Regions from separate parts of the Homo sapiens genome. Here regions 2 and 3 are each linked to region 1. Evidence: promoter capture Hi-C in 16 types of primary human blood cells and fetal thymus (Javierre and others, 2016). All regions are on one chromosome and are shown on one strand. The core of a region is centred on a gene start or on the middle of the fragment in contact, and the rest is flanking DNA. Distances in the headings are between cores, read along the strand shown. Region 1 holds the start of PRELP (proline and arginine rich end leucine rich repeat protein). Region 2 has its middle 24 kb from the start of CHIT1. Region 3 has its middle 5.5 kb from the start of CHIT1.

The links. Contacts are between HindIII fragments. The CHiCAGO score rates a contact against its expected background, and 5 or more counts as called.
Region 2: a fragment that was not itself captured here is called in contact with the fragment with the promoter of PRELP in region 1 in 1 of 17 cell types (total CD8 T cells); the score reaches 5.4 in total CD8 T cells.
Region 3: a fragment that was not itself captured here is called in contact with the fragment with the promoter of PRELP in region 1 in 1 of 17 cell types (naive B cells); the score reaches 5.4 in naive B cells.

What each region holds. Positions count from the first base shown.
Region 1 is chr1:203,474,004-203,478,063 of GRCh38, forward strand. PRELP (proline and arginine rich end leucine rich repeat protein) reads left to right here and starts at 1,803. Exons shown (of 3, transcript NM_002725.4): 1 at 1,803-1,935. The HindIII fragment of the contact is 1,499 bases long and covers 668-2,166 here.
Region 2 is chr1:203,252,059-203,256,106 of GRCh38, forward strand. It overlaps the pseudogene NPM1P40. Among named protein-coding and RNA genes, the nearest start is that of CHIT1, 24 kb to the left of the region's middle. The HindIII fragment of the contact is 3,202 bases long and covers 1-2,958 here.
Region 3 is chr1:203,233,118-203,237,312 of GRCh38, forward strand. No RefSeq gene overlaps it. Among named protein-coding and RNA genes, the nearest start is that of CHIT1, 5.5 kb to the left of the region's middle. The HindIII fragment of the contact is 2,393 bases long and covers 324-2,716 here.

The sequences.
Region 1 (4,060 bases), core at 553-3,052:
GCGTCTGATGTTCCCGGCCTGCAGAAGACGCCATATCCCATCTGGATGAGAAATGAAGCACATGAGCAGCCTGGCAGAGCCACAGTTAATGTGAACCTGGAGAGGAACCGTGCTGTCTTCCAGCAAGACCTCACCAGCAGGGCGTGAAGCCATGAGATCTGGGGTGGAAGGGGGTTGGAGAAAGGTCTGGGTTTTATTTTTCCTTCTCCTTTTCTTAGGCTAATTACCATTCATCGCAATCCCTTTCCTAAACCCTAATATCTTCCCAGTTTATAAAGTGCTCTCACATTTACAATATTTAATCTTCCCAACCCTGTGAGGTCAATATTATCCATATTTTGTAAATGAGGAAACTGAAGGTCCTCATGATCAAGTGATTCACCTAAGACCATAGCTTGTGGGTGGCTGAGCCCAGGGCTGCAGACCCTAATTTTAATGTTCTCTCCTCTACCCCATATTGCGGAGGGCAGGCAGGCAGTCCCCTGTCATGGGGCTCTGCAGCTCTCCATGGAACCAATAATGGAGAAGAAAATTGCGTTGCATTTTCTAAGTAGTCAGCTGGGATGGCAGGAATTTATTTATTTTATTTACTTATTTATTTTTTGAGACAGAGTCACGCTCTTGTTGCCCAGGCTGGAGTGCAGTGGCACGATCTTGGCTCACTGCAAGCTTTGCCTCCCAGGTTCAAGCAATTCTCCTGCCTCAGCCTCCCTAGTAGCTGGGACTACAGATGCCCGCCACCACACCCAGCTAATTTTTTTGTATTTTTAGTACAGACAGGGTTTCACCATGTTGGCCAGGTTGGCCTCAAACTCCTGACCTCAGGTGATCCGCCTGCCTCTGCCTCCCACAGTACTGGGATTACAGGCGTGAGCCACTGTGCCTGGCCATGGCAGGAAATTTTGATGGGCATCTACTTACCTGCAAGTGTGTTGTGCTTTCTTAATTGAGGGGCATTGTTAGAGGATTGTTAGAGGTAGTGGTGTTACTTGACTGGGTCTTCTGGGGTGTTGATGTGCACAGGGGAAATTTGGATTTCCCATCACTTTGTGTGATGACCACACAGCCCCTAAATCTCACCTAAGTGTGATATGGAGAAGCTGAAAGAAGCCACTACATTGTCCACATGAGCTAGGAACAGTGACTTTAGGTCTTACATTAAATCTTAATTCTGCCTTAACTTTGCTGTGCAACTCAGGCCAGACTTCTCCCTCTCTGGTTCTCAGAACAGCCCTGGCAGCCAAACCGAAGTTATCTCCTATGCCAGCCTGAGACTCCACTCCCTTTGCAACCTCCTGGAGAAGATAACTTAGGGAAAGACTGTCACTGCTCAGAGGAAGCATCCCAAACCCCTCACTGGTTTAGGAATTTAACACTACCGAGCAACGGCCCCAGAAGGCAAGGCGATTGTTAGGAGGAATTAAACAGGCTAGTGCTGGACCCAGCCATCCAGTCCTGGCTTACACAGAGGTTGCTTTTCATGCCTTTTCACTCTGTTAATTTGGCTTGTTTTCCAAACATGGGTCAAACAACCCCTCTCCAGAAGCGGCAGCAGCAGAAGGAAATGTTATTAAAAATGAGTCTGTTAGTGGGAATGGTGTGTGGATGAAGTCTTTGGGAGTTTTGGCTGCCAAATAAAGACTTTATTGTCATTCCTCCTTTCCCAAGCTCCCTCCCTCTCTCCTCCCCTCCCCTCCCTCCCTCCTCCCTCCTCTCCTCCCCTCCCTCCCTATGATCTGCCCCTCCCTCCCCCCAAGCTAACCTCCCCACCCCAATAGGATCTGGTGGAAGAAAAGTCAGGCAAACACAAGCACGCACACACCACTGGGAGATCAGATCTTCTAGCTGGCTCTCTGCTGCCACAGCTCCGCCGAAGGGAGGGGGTGGAAGAGGAGGACTAAACTCAGAGCTGAGAGGAGAGGCAGGTGTGTGCAGGTAAGCCCAGTTGGGAGATGGGCAGGAGACTGGGAAGAATCTTTCATCCAGTAAGTTTCCTCCAGCTCTGTCCATTTATTGATCTAGTCTCTATCCTCTCACTCCTTCCTTCCTCCCACCTCTTTCTCCTCTCAAATGAGTTCAAATTTAGTCTTCCTAACTTCTTTCCTATAGCCTCTTCCTTTTCTTTTCATCACTCTGTACCCCTATATTTGCTTACTGCAAAAGTTAAGCTTTCCTGCTGCAGATGTTTGTTGTAGCACAGAGAGCCACGCTGCACAAAGTGTTTCTACAGATCAGGTGTTTCCATAGAAACTGGACTCCAGAACCCATTTCTTTGCACCTTTTGTGTATTGTCACACATTGTGGAAGTCACACACATCACACGGAGGCTGCACGTTCACTACCATCACCCCACACGACCATACAAAATGAAGACATCCTGTCCATTCACCTCTGCCCTCTGCATCTGACATGCAGAGCTAGACCACATCATCACCAGACACCAGCAGACACACACACACATGCATGCACACATGTTCCCTGCATCTTGTCTCTCGCCCTCTCACACACACCTCCCTAGCTGTAAGAGCAAAGATAAAGTACGTTTTCCCACTGAGATGGCAGAGCCAGAAGAAAATCTTGCATCCCAAGTCCAGGCCGAATAGGGAGGAGATAAGCAAGAGCGGGAGCTGGAAGGGTTTCTTCATTATTTAGGGCTTCACTGGGTAGGAGGGAGAGAAAAACGGCTTTTTCCAACCTGCACAGTGTCTTCTCAGCAGCTTTCAATTTCTGTCTCACTGGTCCAAACCACTTGGCTTTTGGAAAGAAAGAAGAAAGCGACCCAGTTCCCAATCCTTGAAGGTCCTAATTCCCAGCTCTGGGGACAGTTCATTTTTTTATTTTTTTTTCCTGCAGGCAGCCAGAAAAATATTTTTCTTTAAAGCCGTTCTGAAATTATTCCAACCATTTAGGTTGGCAAAAGGTCCTGTGGCAGAGGAGAAAAAAAAAAAAAGGCAGCAGTTCCTTAAGCAGTTGGGGAGGGGAAAACTGAAGGGCGGCCCCTCTCCTGCTCCCCTGCTCATTCCTCTCTATTAATAGAGAGGGTCTGTCCCAAGGCAGGCGGGGTGTAGGGAGATCAGGGGTCCCACACACAGCTGATCTTCACAGTCACCTAAGGGCTGGAGAGGGAGGAGTGTGGAGGGCTTACTAAAAATACAGATGTCGGCTCTCACTGCAGATCTACTGAATCGAGACCCAGGAATCTTGTTTTAATACTTCAGGAGATTCTGATGGTCCACCAGGGCTCGAGAATCAGGGGCCTGAGAGAGAGCTTTGCTGTAATTTTTAAGCCCAAGACTCCGGCAGTGTTAGCTGGGCAGAAGGACTGTGTCCTGGAAAAGGAGCACCAGAGTGTCCCAAATAGGCCACCTCTTTTTTGGGGAGTGGGAGTAAACAGGGAAGAGCTGTCTCCCTCTCTCCTCCTTGCAAGCACAAGCAGCCATATATACCACAGAGGAACATTCCAGTAAGAAAGTTCCCCCAAGATGGCTCCACAGAGCTTCTGTTTCCCCTCACCTGTTAATCTGCCTGCCCCAGGACCCCAGGAGCATGTGCTGGGCCCTTCCCCTGACCCTTATAGGTCCCTGCTCCTCCTTCCCAGCAGCCACCTGTCTGGGCTCTCACAGAGGGTGAGCTGAACACTTTCTTCATGCCCCCTCCACCTCCCTAGTGGGCAATCCCATTTATTGGGCATGTGAGTGAAGCATTTCAAGGCTGGAAGGGGCAAAAAGCTGGGAGAAGTCAAGAATCGCAGTGGAACTCCATGGCCCACTGAGGAAGGCAGACTTGCACCTTCTGTGGCCAGTGTCCCCTCACCTGTTGCAGAAAGCATCGGTGAGAAGTTGGTGAATTAGAAAGACAGAACAAGCTTTCCCTAGGTGGCTGGGGACTTCCAGAGTCTCCTCAGTTAGTTGTTTCTGAGACCCAAGTGTGATCTCACAAGCCACAAAGGGGAGGAAGTTGCTCTGTGTGGAAGAGCTGGTACCCCACTCACAAGGATCCCTGCCTTCGAGCAGTGCATGGGGGCTGCCCTCTAGCCAGGCTGGAGGGAAGGAGACCCCAT
Region 2 (4,048 bases), core at 108-2,607, 220 kb before region 1:
TAGTGATTAATGATGTTGAGCATATTTTCATGTACTTAATAACCATTCATATATCTTCTTTGGAGAAATGTCTATTTAAATCCTTTGCCAGTTTTTAAATTGGATTATTTGGGGTTTTTCTTGTTGTTAAGTTGTACAAGATCCTTATATATTCTGGATATTGACCCCTTATCAGATATATGACTTGCAACTCTTTTCTCCCATTCCATAGGTTGCCTTTTCTCTCTGTTGACTGTTACTTTGATGTGTAAAAAAACTTAAGTTTTATGTAGTACTATTTGTCTATTTTTTATTTTGTTGCCTGTGCTTTTGGTATCATATCCAAGAAATTATTGCCAAATCCAATTGTTGGCATATAATTGCTCATAATGGCATTTACATTTTAAGAAATTGCTGATAGTGAAGGACTTACTGTTGCCATTTTGTTCATTGTGTTCTGTTTCACTTGTAGCTTTCTTTGTCCCCCCCCCCTTTTTTCTTTTGATAATTTCTTTTGTGTTTCATTAATTTTTTTTTGTGGCCACAGATTTTGATTCCCTTCTCACTTCCTTTCCTTTACAGTCTTTGTCCATTTTCTGTTGCTGTAACAGAATACTTGAGACCAGGTAATTTATTTTTTAAAAAGAGGTTTGTTTAGCTCACAGTTCTTGATGCTGGGAAGTTCAAGATCAAACAGCTGCATCTGACGAGGGTCTCATGCTGTGTCATAACATGGAGGATGGCATCACATGGTGGTTATGCATGTGAGAGCACTGAGCGGGTACACACACAAGAGAGAAAACATGAGGGGTGACCTCACTTTATAACAACCCACTCTTGCGGTAACTAATCCAGTCACTGAAGAGCAATAATTCACTCCTGTGAAATGGCATTAATCCCTTCATAAGGACAGATGGCTTATGACCCAAATGCCTCTTAAAGGTCCCACCAGTTCTCAACACCATTACATGGGGAACAAGCCTTAACATGAATTTCAGTGGGGGATAAACCATATTCAAATCATAGCACTTACATTCTATAGTTACTGTCTTTGTGGTAACCATTGCAATTACGTGAAACATAACCTCTTAATGTTTTAACAATCTACTTTTAATGAGTACCATGTGGTGGTTTCCTGATTAAAGCCCCTTAATTCAGAAAAACTGCTTGCTTGCTTACTTGTTTGCCTGTTCTCTTACATAGGTGTGTCTCCATAGATAAATTAGGGGAAAATCTGTCCCTTTGTATTTCAAAAAGGGCAAAGAAAATTGTAATTAGATTTCTCCATAGACACACTCTTTCCTCCCTGGGGGAAACTAATAAGAAGAGGGTATAACACTTTCCCTAGCTAGAATTCCCTACAGAAGTTTGCCTTTGGACTGCAAAGAAAACGGCTCTTTCATTCTTAATCATCAGATAAGTAATTCAGTACCACTGGGACAATTGTAGATTCAGATCTTTTGGCAGAAGACTGGAAGAATATGGGTAATATCATAACAATCTATTTTAAGCTGATAACAACTTAGCTTCAATTGCATCTAAAACTCTGCTTCTTTACATCTCAGTCCACCCCACCTTTATGTTACTGATGACTCAAATTACCTTTTTTATATTGCATATCCATTACCATAGATTTATAATTACTTTCTATGCTTTTGTTTTTTGAATTCTATGAGATTTAGAAGAGATTTACACACATTACAATACTACAAGATTCTATATTTATCTATATATTTACCAGAGAATTTAATATTTTCTTTTTTTTTTTTTGAATTGCATTTTGTCCCTTTACCTCAACTTCAGGGACTCCCTTCAGCATTTCTTGTAGGTCAGGACTAGTGGTGATAAACTCCCTCAAATTTTATTTATTTGGGAAAGTTGTAATTTCATCTTTGTTTTTGAAGGACAGTTTTGTTGGATCTAGCATTCTTAGTTGGCAGGTTTTTTCTTCCAACACAGGCATATCTCATTTTATTGCACTTTATTTTATTGTGCTTCACAGATATTACATTTTATACAAATTGAAGGCTTGTGGCAACCCTGTGTCAAGCAAATCTTTTGGCACCATTTTTCCAATAGCACATGCTTACTTTGTGTCTCTGTGTCACATTTTGATAATTCTTAAAACATTTCAAACTTTATTATTAATAGTAGCATATCTGTTATTGTGATCTGTGATCAGTGATCTTTGATGTTACTATTGTAATTGTTTTGGGGTGCCATGAAAAGACAGCAAACTTAATTGATCCATCTTGTGTGTGTTCTCACTCCTCCACCAAATGGCTATTCCCCGTCTCTCTTTTCCTCGGGCCTCCCTATTCCCTGAGACATGAAAACATTGAAATTAGGCCAATTGATAATCTTACAATAATAGCCTCTAAGTGTTCTAGTGAAAGGAAGAGTCATATGTCTCTTGCTTTAAATAAAATGCTAGAAATGATTAAGGTTAGTGAGGAAGACACGTCAAAGGCTGAGATGGGCTAAAGGCTGGTCCTCTTGTACCAAACAGCCAAGTTTTAAATGCAAAGAAAAATTTCTTGAAGAAAATTAAAAGTGCTACTCCAGTGAACACATAAAGCAAAACCACTTTATTGCTGATGTGGAGAAAGTTTGAGTGGTCTGGATAGATCAAACCAGCCACGACATTCCCAAAGCCAAAGCCTAATTCAGAACAAGGCTAACTCTCTTCTGTACTATGGAGGAAGGCTGAGAGAGGTCAGGAAGCTGCAGAAGAAAAGTTTGAAGCTAGCAGAAGTTGGTTCATGAGGTTTAAGGGAAGAAGCCATCTCCATAACATAAAAGTGCAAGTGTTGATGTAGAAGCTGCAGCAAGTTATCCAGAAGATCTAGCTAAGATCATTGATGAAGGTGGCTACACTAAACAACAGCTTTTCAATGTAGATAAAACAGGCTTCTATTGAAAGCAGATGCCATCTGGGACTTTCACAGTTAGAGAGGAGAAGTCAATGCCTAGCTTCAAAGCTTCAAAGGACAGCTGACTCTCTTGTTAGGGGCTAATGCAGCTGGTGGCTTTAAGTTGAAACCAATGCTTATTTACCATTTTGGAAATTCTAGAGCTTTTAAGAATTATACTAAATCTGATCTGCCTGTGCTCTATAAATTGAACAACAAAGCCTGGATGACAGGACATCTGTTTACAGCATAGTTTACTGAATATTTTAAGCTCACTATAGAGACATGCTACTCAGAAAAAAAGATTCATTTCAAAATATTATTGCTCATTGACAATAAGCCTGGTCACCCAAGAGTTCTGATGGAGATGTACAAGGAGATGAATGTTGTTTTCATGCCCACTAGCACAACATCCATTCTGCAGCCCATGGATCAAGAAATAATTTCAATTTTCAAGTCTTATTATTTAAGAAATACATTTTGTTAGGTTATAGCTGCCCTAGATACTGATTCTTCTGATGGATCTGGGCAAAGTAAATGTAAATCTTCTGGAAAGGATTCACCATTCTGGATGCCATTAAGAACATTTGTGATTCATGAGAGGTTAGAATATCAACATTAACAAGAGTTTGGAAAAAGTTGTTTTCAACTTCATGAATGACTGTGAGGGGCTTAACACTTCATTGGAGGAAGTGACTTCATACGTGGAAATAGCAAGATAACTAGAATTAGAAGTGGATCCTGAAGATCTAACTGAATTGCTGTAAACTCATTTTAAAACTTGAATGTGTACATGAGCCCCCTGAGGCCCCAGAGCTATCTTTTTGGTTGTTAACTAAAGGTCGACAAAGATTATCACTTTAAGGTGGATAATGATGAAAATGAGCACCAGTTATCTTTAATAACGGCCAGTTTAGGGGCTGCTACAAAGGATGAATTGCACATTGTTGAAGCAGAGGCAATGAATTATGAAGGCATTCCAGTTAAAGTAACACTGTCAACTTTCAAAATGTCTATACAGCCAATGGTTTCCTCTGGGGGCTTTGAAATCACACTACCAGTGGTCTTACGGCTGAAGTGTGGTTCAGGGCCAGTGCATATTAGTGGACAGCACTTAGGACGAAGATGCAGAGCCAGAAGATGAAGAGGAGGAAGAT
Region 3 (4,195 bases), core at 270-2,769, 240 kb before region 1:
CTGAGTTAAGCCTTGCCTCTTCCACAGTCAATGTACTCCATACTACCTTCTGCTATCTTGGAACAACTCCTTCCATCCAGAATAGGAAAGAACCCTGGCTTGGAGACAGACAGAACTGGGTGTATCTCAATGGATATCACCAATAAATTACTTTCATAGATTTTATACTCTCCTTTCCAGCCCCATTGGCTTCTCCCACCCCTTTCTCAGCCACTGCCAAAGCCCAAACCAAGTAAAACCAGTGTGCTTGATATAAAATGAGGCTTCAAAGCAAGTCCCCGTCCCACCCTACTGCAGAGCAGATGCCTGTATAGAAATTCTAAAGCTTCTGCTGATTTGCATCCAACCTGGCTGGCTGAGCTGGGGCTAGTCACAGCCTCTCCAAGCCTTGGTTTTCTCATCTGTAAAATGGGGATAATACTACCTATCTTATTTGGTAATGATGTGGATCGAATAGATAATGTGTGAGAGGGCTTTGTAGGTGGGAGGACGCCAGCCAGATCTCATGGGACTGCATCTTGATGGTTGGTATCACACCTTTTTCTCTTGCTTCATGTGAGCATCTCATCTCTGTAGCTGGACTGTCCATAGCCAGGCAGAGTGGGGCCTCTCTCCACACCTCTCTATGTGTCCCTCAGCACCAAGCATACAGGGGGTCTTCAATTAATGTTTGTTAACTGTTCCTTCCCACGTCCCACCGTGTTCTTCCCCTTAGCAGTAAAAGACATCACCACCTATCCGGGTCTCCAAGTCACCCAGGAAGTGTCCTTGATCCTTCCCTTTCCTCACCCTCAATGATCAGGACCTATTAGACATCCTGCCTCCTGCTCCATCTCCTCCACCTCCTAACCACCGTCAACTCCCACCCTGTCCCCAGAAGAGCCTCCTACCTGCCTTCCTTCCTAATTCTCTTGCCTCTGCAATCCATTCTCCACACAGCAGCCAGAGTACACTTTGAGAAACTTAAATCAGATCCTGTTGCTTTCCTGCTAAGACCTTGCAATGGTTCCCACTTAAAATAAAATATCAACTCCTTAACTCTACCTCTAGAACACTCTAACTCTATTCTTTCATTAGGACAATGTTCTTTCAAAGGACACCTTCTTGGCAGGGAAGATAATTTATCACTGGACATAACTAAATTAAAAAAACAAATTTTTGAAGCCTCTCAGGCTCACTTATCCATTGTGCCTGGAGCTGAGGCGTTAGATCAGGTGGCAGAAAATCTTTATGGACTAAACCCCACGACTTTGATTAAGTCTATTGGAGGCCCCACTCTAGTAAATTTTGGAATTATGTTTCTCTGTTTAACCAGCTTGTCTTTAGTGTGTCAGACAAGTCAAAGAATCCTGCATCAAAATCGAGAGAATGAACAAGCCTTCATCGCCATGGCACATTTATATAAAAAGAAAGGGAGAGATGTTGCGGGAAGTCAGGGACCCTGAACGGAGGGACCGGCTGAAGCCATGGCAGAAGAACATAAATTGTGAAAATTTCATGGACATTTATTAGTTCCTCAAATTAATACTTTTATAATTTCTTACGCCTGTCTTTACTGCAATCTCTGAACATAAATTGTGAAGATTTCATGGACATTTATCACTTCCCCAATCAATATTCTTGTGATTTCCTATGCCTGTCTTTACTTTAATCTCTTAATCCCGCCATCTTTGTAAACTGAGGATGTATGTTGCCTCAGGACTCCGTGAGGATTGCGTTAACTGCATAAATTGTTTAAACAATATGAAATCTGGGCACCTTGAAAAAAGAACAGGATAACAGCGATGTTCAGGGAACAAGGGAGATAACCATTAGGTCTGGCTGCCTGACAGCCAGGTGGGACAGAGCTATATTTCTCTTCTTTCAAAAGCAAATAGGAGAAATATCGCTGAATTCTTTTTCTCAGCAAGGAACATCCCTGAGAAAGAGAATGCATTCCTAGGGGGAGGTCTCTAAAATGGCCGCTCTGGGGACATCTGTCTTTTACTGTTGTAGATAAGGGATGAAATAAGCACCAGTCTCCCGTAGCACTCCCAGGCTTATTAGGATGAGGAAATTCCTGCTTAATAAATTTTGGTCAGACCGCTTGTCTGCTCTCAAACCCTGTCTCCTGATAAGATGTCATCAATGACAATGCATGCCCGAAACTTCATTAGCAATTTTAATTTCGCCCCGGTCCTGTGATCTCGCCCTGCCTCCATTTGCCTTGTAATATTTTATTACCTTGTGAAGCATGTGATCTTTGTGACCCACACCCTATTCATACACTCCCTCCCCTTTCGAAAATCACTAATAAAAACTTGCTGGTTTTGCAGCTTGGGGGGCATCATGGAACCTGCTGACATGTGATGTCTCCCCCGGACACCCAGCTTTAAAATTTCTCTCTTTTGTACTCTTTCCCTTTATTTCTCAGACCGACTGACACTTAGGAAAAATAGAAAAGGGCCCACGTTGAATATTCAGGGGCGGGTTCTCCTGATACCTTTGCACCTGCCATTGCCTCTGCCCACAATGTTCTTCTCTGTGATCTTCACACAGCTGGCTCCTTCTCCTCATTCATGCTTTTCCTGACCACTCATAGAAAGTAGTGCCCTCCCCTCAAGTCACTCTCTGTTCTCTCCTGATGATTTATTTTCTCCTAAGTACTTTCATGGCTGAATTCATTCATTCATTCATTCATTTGTGTGTAGTGTCTGTTTCCTACCACTAGAATGTAAGCTTCATGAGAGGAGGGACTTTTCTTGTTTAGTCCTCTTTGTCTAGTACCCAGAATATTTCCCAGCACATAGTAGGTGCTTAATCCATATCTATTGAATTAATTAATTAATTAATGTGACCTCTCTGCATGATCTGGCCCACTATGATATTGTGATATAAGAAATGTATATTTGGTCTTTGTCCCCAATTTCTGGCACGGAGCTCCTAAAACCCTTAAAATTTCTTGAGAAATAGGGGTTCTAGGTGCATCTCTTGTTCTAATGTTTAGCCTTTGACCCTAGTTTTGACACAGAACTCCTAAGCCCTTGGAACTTCCTGGGTACTAGGAGCATCTTTTGTTCCAAAGAGGTGCCTCTTTGTGGGCATCTGGAGGGGGGTTGGTCACCAGAAAGACCAAGCCATGATGAGAAGTTTGGAACCTTCAGCTCCACCCCCCATCCTCTGGGAAGGGGAGTGGGGCTGAAGACCACGTAATCATGCTTATGTGGGGAAGCCTGCATAAAAGTCCATTAACTAGGCTGGGTGCAGTGGCTTATGCCTGAAATCCCAGCACTTTGGGGTGCAGAGGCAGGAGGATTTCTTGAGTTCAGGAGTTTGAGACCAGCCTGAACAACCTTGACCTCCTGAACAACTAGGTCTCAACCTAGTGAGACCCCCTTTCTACAGACAAACAAACAAACAAACAAACAAACAAAATCCATGATCCATGGGGTTTAAAGAGCTTCAAGGCTACTGAACACATGGAGAGAGGAGAGCAGCTCCAAGCCCCTTCCCATCTTCCTCGCACTATGCATCTCTTCCATCTGGCTGCTCCTCTGTATCCTTTGTAATATCCTTTAAATCAATGGGTCAATGTAAGTAAGTGTTTTTGTGAGTTCTGTGAGCTGCTCTAGCAGAGGAAGAGCAGAGGAAGGGCGTCATGGGAACCCCAGTTTTTAGCTGCTTGATTGAAGCACAGCTCACCACCTGGGACTTGTGATTGGCCTCTGAAGTGGGGGCAGCCTTGTGGGACTGAGCCCTCAGCCTGTAGATCTGACTCACTCCAGATGGATAGTGTCAGAATGGAATTAAATTATAGGATACCCTGTTGGTGTCTGCTGGAGAGTTGTTTGGGTGTGGAGAGAAATCCCCACACCTCTGGTCTCAGAAATGAAGTATGGAGAGTGAGTGTGAGAATAGTAGAATACAGTCAGTTTGTGTGTTTTTCCATTAGGCCACCCGCCTACCTCTCAGCCTTGTGCTGGTCACGCCACCCTGAGCACCCCAGTTCTATTTCATGAACGTGAGTGTGTCAAGCCTTTTCCAATCTCAGGGTCTTGGCACAGCACCCTTTGCCTGGGATGTGTTCTCCTTCTCATTCTCATCCTCCAGGGCTGGTCTCTGCTGTCACCTCCTGAAGAGGCTTCCCTATATCTGCGTATTTCTCCATGGCAGGGCAGTTCTGCTACTCTCTCCTGAAAAGGTGTTTATTTTTCCT